Regions from separate parts of the Homo sapiens genome. Here region 1 is linked to region 2. Evidence: promoter capture Hi-C in human tissues and cell types (Jung and others, 2019). All regions are on one chromosome and are shown on one strand. The core of a region is centred on a gene start or on the middle of the fragment in contact, and the rest is flanking DNA. Distances in the headings are between cores, read along the strand shown.

Region 1 (4,462 bases), core at 299-2,798, 970 kb after region 2:
GCTCAAGGAATCCCCTCACTTTAGCCCCTCAAATAGCTGGGGCAACAGGTATGAGCCATTGAGTCCAGCTTAACTTTTTATCTGGAAATGATCTTAAACTTACAGAAAAATTGAAAGGACACCAGTACACCTACCGTCCTCTGTTCACAGACACACAATGTTTTTTTTCTGACCCATTTGAAGTTAGCTTACATACATCATGGCTGCTTACTTCAATGTGTAGGTCCTCAATATACTTTTTAACTTTTTATTATAAAAATTTTTAAACAGAAAAGTTAATAGTCGTGTGAACAACCATATTCCTTTTCTTTTTTTATTTTTAAGTTTGTAGCTATCTATCTATTTATTTATTTATTTTGAGACCGGGTTATAAGGCTGGCTAATTTTTGTATTTTTGGTAGAGATAGAGTTTCGCCATGTTGCCCAGGCTGGTCCCGAACTCCCGGACTCAAGCGATCCACCAGCCTCAGCCTCCCAAAGTGCTGGGATTACACCTGAGCCACTGCACCTGGCCAACAGCCATATTCCTGATTTTAAAATTGTGATTGTGTTTTGTAATTGGTTTATCTATGCACATACACATACACAAATAGATTTTGTTTTTGTTCTCCTAAACTATTTGGGTTTTTTGTTTGTTTGTTTTTATTTGAGACAGAGTCTCATTCTGTCACCCAGGCCGGAATACAGTGGCGTGATCTTGGCTCACTGCAACATCCACCTCCTGGGTTCAAGGGATTCTCCTGCCTCAGCCTCCTGAGTAGCTGGGATTACAGGTGCCTGCCACCACATCTGGTTAATTTTGTGTGTGTGTATTTTTAGTATAGATGGGGTTTCACCATATTGGGCAGGCTGGTCTGACCTCAAGTGATCTGGCCTCCCAAAGTGCTGGATTACAGGCATGAGCCACTGCGCCCAGACTTCCTAAACTATTTGAAATGGAGTTGCACACCCACAGACACCTTCGGCAAGTCCCAAGAAAAAGGACTTTTCTCTTCCAGCACCACAGTGCTATTGTCACACTTTAATTATCTTCCAGCCTCTAATTATTAGAGTTTAATCTTCCCTCCATATTCAAATGTCAAGGTAAAAGATTAGAAAGATTTTTGTCATCTAAGGAGCTTGGAGTTTATCCATTAGGGCTTGGGGAGGATTGTTTTTTATGGAGGCATCTGAGAGGATTAGAAAGAAACCCAGAGTAAGGCCAGGCACAGTGGCTCACGCCTGTAATCCTAGCACTTTGAGAGGCCAAGGTGGGCGGATTGCTTGCGTCCAGGAGTGCAGGACCAGTCTGGGCAACACAGCAAAACTCCATCTCTACAAAAAAAAAATACAAAAAATTAGCTGGGTGTGGTGGTACACACCTGTGGTCCCCAATACTTGGGAAGCTTAGGTAGGAGGATCCTTTGAGCCTAGAAGGCAGAGGTTGCAGTGAGCCGTGATGGCACCACTGCACTCCAGCCTTGGCTGCAGAGCAAGACCCTGTCTCAAAACACAACAAAACAGCCGGGTGCTGTGGCTCACGCCTGTAATCCCAGCACTTTGGGAGGCCAAGGTGGGTGGATCACGAGGTCAGGAGATTGAGACCATCCTGGCTAACACAGTGAAACACCGTCTCTACTAAAAATACAAAAAATTAGCCAGGCGTGGCGGCGGGTGCCTATAGTCCCAGCTACTCGGGAGGCTGAGGCAGGAGAATGGCGTAAACCCGGGAGGAGGAGCTTGCAGTGAGCTGAGATCGTGCCACTGCACTCCAGCCTGGGTGACAGAGCGAGACTGCCTCAAAAAAAAAAAGAAAAAAGAAACTAGGGGTAAGTTAGAGACTGGATTTGAGATTGTGAACTGGAGACTGGAGGCTGCAGACAAAAACCCACTTCACACTCTGCACCGCAGTTTTCTCATCTGTAAAGAGGAAATCCTAGACCAGGCGCAGTGGCTCACGCTGTAATCCCAGCACTTTAGGAGGCTAAGGCAGGTGGATCGCTTGAGGTCAGGAGTTCGAGACCAGCCTGGCCAACATGGTGAAACCCCGTCTCTACCAAAAATACAAAAACTAGCCAGGTGTGGTGGCACACGCCTGTAATCCCAGCTACTCAGGAGGCTTAGGCAGGAGAATCACTTGAAACTTGTAGGTGGAGGTTGCAGTGAGAATGATGTCATCATAGCTCGCTACCGCCTCCAACTCCTAGGCTCAAGGGATCCTCCTGAGTAGCTGAGACCACAGGCATGTGCCACCATGCCCATCTAATTTTTAAAATTTTTTTGTTGCGACAGAGTCTGGCTTTGTTGCCCAGGCTGGTCTCTGTGACACACCTTTTTATAACCACTAACATTACTCAAACTATTTATTTATTTCTTTTTGTTGAGACAAGGTCTTGCTCTGTTGTCCAGGCTGGAGTGCAGCGGTGCAATCACAGCTCACTGCAGCCTCGAACTCCTGAGCTCAAGCGATCCTCTCGCCTCAGCCTTCTAAGCAGCTAAGACCACAGGTCCCCACGCCTGGCTAATTTTTTAATTTTCTGTAGAGACAGGTCTCACCATCGTACCCAGGTGAGTCTAGAACTGCTGGGCTCAACTGATCCTCCTACCTCAGCCTCCCAAAGTGCTGGGATTACAGGTGTGAGCCACTCTGCCCAGCCTTTGAACAATTTATATCATCCCAGTTTGCACATGAGGAAACAAGAAGCTGGCCAGTGGTCGATCCAGTACTTGACTTTAGGCAAAACCCAAGCTCTTTAACTATTCACCAAACTGCTCCTAAAAATATTTAGCATAGTTCTTGGCTTGAGGTAAAAGTTCTATAAATGTCAGCTGGTGTAGCTTGGCCAAGTTATAGCTTGTTGAAAGCTAATTCCTGAACAAATATTTAGTAAGTACCTACAATGTTCCAGATGCTTCTAAGGGCTGGGATTGGAGCAGGAAATGTGATAGAGTCACAGGATAACTCTAGCGTGTGGTGGCAGGGGAAGGGTCCTAGGGAGAAAACAAGGCCCCAAGAAAAGGGATTGGTAAACTGGGCTGGGGGAGACAGGATTTTGCAATTTTAAACAGGACAGTCAAGAAAAGCTGCATGGAAAGGTGACCTTTGAGCAAAGTCTGCAAAGAAAACAGGGAGCCATGTGGCTACGAGAGGGAAATGGCAAAGGGTCCTGGGTCACACCTGTAATCGCAGCATTTTAGGAGGTCGAGATGGAAGGATCGCTTAAGCCCGGGAGTTCAAAACTAGCCTGGGCAACTTGGTAAGACCTCCATCGCTACAAAAAAAATGTTTTTTTCTTTTTCTTTTGAGACGGAGTCTTGCTCTGTCACCCAGGCTGGAGTGCAATGGCACGATCTCGGCTCACTGCAACCTCTGCCTCCCAGGTTCAAGGGATTCTCCTGCCTCAGCTTCCTGAGAATAGCTGGGATTACAGGCATGCACCACGACACCTGGCTAATTTTTGTGTTTTTTTTGTTTTGTTTTGTTTTGTTCTGCTTTGTTTTTGAGATGGAGTCTTGCTCTGTCTCCCAAGCTGGAGTGCCGTGGCGCGATCTCAGCTCACTGCAACCTCCGCCTCAAGGGTTCCAGCAATTCTCCAGCTTCAGCCTCCTGAGTAGCTAGGACTACAGGCATGCACCACCATGCCCAGCTAACTTTTGTATTTTTACTAGAGATGGGGTTTCACCATGTTGGCCAGGCTGGTCTCGAACTCCTAACCTCAGGCGATCTGGCCTCCTCAGTCTCCCAAAGTGCTGGGATTACAGGGGTTAGCCACCAGACCCGGCCTAAAAAAATTTTTTAAATTAGCCAGGCTTGGCCGGTATCATGCCATTGCACTGCAGCCTGGGTGGCAAGAGGGAAGGAAACTCTGTCTCAAAAAAAAAAAAAAATAGTGGGGTTTGGTGGCTCACCCCTGTGGTCCCAGCTCCTCAGGAGGCTAAGGCAGGAGGATCACTTCAGCCCAGAAAGTCAAGGCTGCAGTGAGCCGTGTTCACGCCACTGTCCTCCAGCCTGGACAACAGAATGAGACCCTGTCTCAGAGAAAATAAAAAAGAGAGGGAAATGCATCAGGGGCAGAGGAATCAGACATTGCCAAGGCTGGGAGGCAGAACCTGGCTGGAGCAGAGGCGTGTAAGAGAGAGTGGTAGGCAGAGTAGGCAAGGACGTCAGAGGGCTGATGGGGCCATATCAGGTGGGGCCTTGAGGGCTGGCCATGGGGACTTTGCTTCTACCCTGAGTGAGATGGAGCTATGGATGTGAACTGATAGGGGTGTTCACGGGCTCCTTGGGAGGAGGGAAGGAGGGGCTGAGAGACCAGGGAGTAGGCTGCTGGGCTGGTCCAGGCAAGAGGTAACAGTGGACAGGACCAGGCGGAGTGAGAAGAGGTCAGATTTGGAATTATTGTGATCAGCAGACAGCTCTTACCTGGGGTGTGAGGGAAAGAGGAGCCCCAGAGGACTCCCCTGTTTTTGCAACTGGAAAGCA
Region 2 (4,002 bases), core at 1,269-3,768:
GAGCGGAGATCATGCCACTGCACTCCAACCTGGGTGACAGAGTGAGACTCCGTCTCAAAAAAAAAACCTTGTGATGACCTCACCAGGGGCAGACACCTTGAAAGTGGTCGTCCTTTTTTTTTTTTTTTTTTTTTTGATTAGCGGTAAGATCTCACTATGTTGCCCAGGCTGGTCTTGAACTCCTGGAAAGTGATCCTTCCCTCTTGGCCTCCCAGAGTATTGGGATTACAGGGGTGAGCCACTGTCCCACCACAGTTTTTTTTTTCTTATGGCCAGCTCTTATACAGAAATAACAGATACACCCCATTCTTCTTAAGACTCACCACAGCGCCCCTTGCTGCCTCTAGACCCATAAATACCTAGGGTGAAATCAGCTTGCTCCAGGTGAACAGGTGCCAGCTAGGACCTAGGCGGGAGCAGCTTTTACACTATAAGAATGACAAGGCTTCGCAAATATACAGAGTCAGAAACTTGGGGAATGTGTGCAGAAGGGGATTTTAAGGATGTTACACCAATGAGGGTGGATGTAACACTAGCTCAGGCCAAATTTACTGGCATGAGTGCGCTTTCTAGAGCTTCTGGATTTCATGGGTTACCTTGTGCAGCTGGACGTAGTTCTAATAGCTTGCTTGGGTGCCTAACCGGAACTTGGATCCAACAGTGGCCTAAAGTTAATGAGGCAGAGAGACCAGAACTGCCCTAGCATAAGATGGGTGAGGGGAGTCCCAAGGCTTGGGGAGACAGAAGTGTTGGATTGGAATGATCGTGTTCCACCAGCATGTCCACCCTCCAACCATGTTCCCCAAGAAGGCACCCCTTAGTGGCCAATCCCATGAGAGTTAATCATTCTGTATATTGAACTTTCCCTATTCCCATTCCTGTGTGGTTTCTCTCTCCTGATTGGACCCGGACTGAGGCACATGGCAAAGGCAAAAAGAAAGGCACCTTGTGAAGCTTCCTAATGCTTCCAGGAGGAGCAGCACCCCCTGCCCCCAGAAGCTAGATGAGCTCAGGGGGCCTGGAGTCCCTCTCCCCCAGCCCCAGAGTGGAGTGGGCTTGCAGACTCCCTCAGGAGGTGCTCGGGCCCCTGCCCCCAGCCCCTAGCTGTCATTTCCCACTCCAACTATTATTCCATTAATATTCACCACTTCCTCCCCACTCTCTTCCTCCAGCTGTTCCCACAGGCTCCATTATTCAAACTTTGGGGGAGGAAATCAGGGCTGGACAGATCATCAACTGCTGCTGCTGACAGACTGTGTTCCTGCCATGATGGGGACAGGCCTGCCCCAAACCAGGGTGGAGTGAAGGGGTCAGCCCAGGCTTAGTGGGAGCCCCTTAGTCTTACCCCATGTCTTGGGAGGTCTTCAGAGAGCTGATGCAGTCCCAACAGCAGGGGCCCCTGGAGGGCAGGGATGCAAACACAGGCAGACACCCCCTCCTGCCCCAAGGGGCTGGATGTGAGTGTTCCTGGAGTCACAGTGCCGCTGGGGGAGGGGAGGGGCCCGGGGTGAGGCTGGCTCCAGGCCGGAGGTTGGGGGTAAGGTAGGAACAGATTCCCACGCTGCTGGGCAGGCAGCCCGGGTGCCGAGAGGGATGGAGGAGGTACAGGGGATCAGCTTAGCTCCCGGGGTTCCCCGTGGGCCCCACCCCGTCACCCTCTATTGCCCTTGAAGCTCCAGTCTTTTCCTCTCCTGTTCTTCCCCTTGGCTCCCTCTCCGCCTCTGCCTGGGTCTGGCTCGGAAGCCTGAGTCCCTCCCCTCTGCCCTCCACCTGCCTCTCTCAACCTCTCTTTCCCCATGAGCACCCCACAGGGCTTCCGCAACCCCTTATCTTTCTCGCCATCTCCATTTCCCTCCCCCTCTCCCTCCTGGCCACCTTCCCACTTGCCCGTCTTCTCTCTCTCTCCCCCTCAGCTCTCTCCATCGCCTGTCTCACCCCAGTTCTCCTCTCTCTGCTCCCTGGCCGTCTCTTCCCTCTCCACAATGTCTCTGTCTCTCCTTCTCCTCACCAGCCCCGTTCCCCCCACCTCACCCTGACTGGGCAGCAACAACAAACATCCCTCTGGCAGGCCCGCCGATCCCTTCCCACTCAGCACATTCACTGCCGCCTCCTGGCCATGGGTGCAGCCGGGCGCCAGCCTCTCAGCCTCCCCATCTCTGCCTCAGTGGGACCCTGCCTCGCCCTGGTCACTCTAACACTCCCCAGCCCAGGCCCAGCCTTCAGCCCCACCCTCCCTGGCACCCCCTGGCCCTGGTTCTCCCCTCCCAGGCCTCACAAAGCCCCCGTCTTGTTTCTGTGGCTGCCCCCTGCACCCTTCCCAGCTGTCTCACCAGAAACCAGCCCTAACACGCCAGAGCCCCATCTCTCAGGTCGGCCTCCTGCCCTCCTCCCTCCCTCCCTCCCTCCCTCTCTCCTGCCTCAGCCCCGCCCCGGCCCCTGGGGCCCTCCCTGCTCCCGCTCCACTCCCCTCCCCGCCCCTCTGGACTGGCTGGGCAGGGCTGGGCCCCGCCGGTCGACAACACAGGGGCTGGGGCAGGCAGATCAGAGGGAGCTGAGGGAGGCCTGACCTGAGGCCGGCACCCGGAGCTGGCGGGAGCCAGACCCAGAGGTAAAAAAGCATGGGATCCCTGGTTCCCCAGTCCCTGGGGTTGGGGTGTTGCGGGAGGCAGGCTGGGTTTCTAACCCCAGGGAGCTAGGAATCCCGCTCCTGATTTCCTGGTGAGGGCAATAAATGGAGGGAGAGGGAGGAGATAGACGGCAAGGTCCCTTGTCCTGGATGGAGACAGGGAAGAGGTAGACCCTTGGGCTTTTAGGAAGGTGGAAGCATTTGGACGGAGTGGGAAGAACAGGGTGCTGGTACGGGATTGGAATGGGGGACTCCTAGGTCTAGGAATAAGGACCAACGAGGTCCCTGGGTCAGGGGAGCTGTTTAGGATCTGGGACCGAGAGAATCTGTTATGGGGGTTGGCGGGGACTATGGGAGATTGTGAAGCTGTCTGCCTGGGGCCTGGCTGGGCCCTCTCTGGAGGCCCATCCCCACACCCCAATGGCCTCCGTGGCTCCCCTGTGGCTCCCTTGTAGCTCCCGCGGCCGCCCCTTCCCTGGGCCGGGTCATGCGCTGCCCCAAGTGCCTTCTCTGCCTGTCAGCACTGCTCACACTCCTGGGCCTCAAAGTGTACATCGAGTGGACATCCGAGTCCCGGCTCAGCAAGGCCTACCCCAGCCCTCGGGGCACCCCGCCAAGCCCCACGCCAGCCAACCCTGAGCCCACCCTACCTGCCAACCTCTCCACCCGCCTGGGCCAGACTATCCCGCTGCCCTTTGCTTACTGGAACCAGCAGCAGTGGCGGCTGGGGTCCCTGCCCAGTGGGGACAGCACTGAAACGGGGGGCTGCCAGGCTTGGGGGGCCGCCGCCGCCACCGAGATCCCTGACTTCGCCTCCTACCCCAAGGACCTCCGCCGCTTCTTGCTGTCAGCAGCCTGCCGGAGCTTCCCACAGTGGCTGCCTGGAGGTGGTGGCAGCCAAGTCTCCAGCTGCTCAGATACTGATGTCCCCTACCTGCTGTTGGCCGTCAAGTCAGAACCAGGGCGCTTTGCAGAACGACAGGCCGTGAGAGAGACGTGGGGCAGTCCAGCTCCAGGGATCCGGCTGCTCTTCCTGCTAGGGTCTCCGGTGGGTGAGGCGGGGCCTGACCTAGACTCACTAGTGGCCTGGGAGAGCCGTCGCTACAGTGACCTGCTGCTCTGGGACTTCCTCGACGTCCCATTCAACCAGACGCTCAAAGACCTGCTGCTGCTGGCCTGGCTGGGCCGCCACTGCCCCACCGTGAGTTTTGTCTTGCGAGCTCAGGACGATGCCTTTGTACACACCCCTGCCCTGCTGGCTCACCTGCGGGCCCTGCCACCTGCCTCGGCCCGAAGCCTCTACCTGGGTGAGGTCTTTACCCAGGCCATGCCTCTCCGGAAGCCAGGAGGACCCTTCTATGTGCCCGAGTCCTTCT

Evidence for each region. Contacts are between HindIII fragments. The study calls those that stand out against the background at their distance.
Region 1: a fragment that was not itself captured here is called in contact with the fragment with the promoter of B3GNT8 in region 2 in 1 of the 25 tissues and cell types used here (dorsolateral prefrontal cortex).

The regions. Positions count from the first base shown.
Region 1 is chr19:40,451,884-40,456,345 of GRCh38, reverse strand. The region is part of intron 3 of BLVRB (biliverdin reductase B); the gene reads left to right. Among named protein-coding and RNA genes, the nearest start is that of SERTAD3-AS1, 9.6 kb to the right of the region's middle. The HindIII fragment of the contact is 7,951 bases long and covers 1-4,462 here.
Region 2 is chr19:41,425,890-41,429,891 of GRCh38, reverse strand. B3GNT8 (UDP-GlcNAc:betaGal beta-1,3-N-acetylglucosaminyltransferase 8) reads left to right here and starts at 2,518. Exons shown (of 2, transcript NM_001385648.2): 1 at 2,518-2,608; 2 at 3,082-4,002. The coding sequence starts at 3,114. RefSeq lists silencers at 2,198-2,347, 2,368-2,477. The HindIII fragment of the contact is 6,844 bases long and covers 1-4,002 here.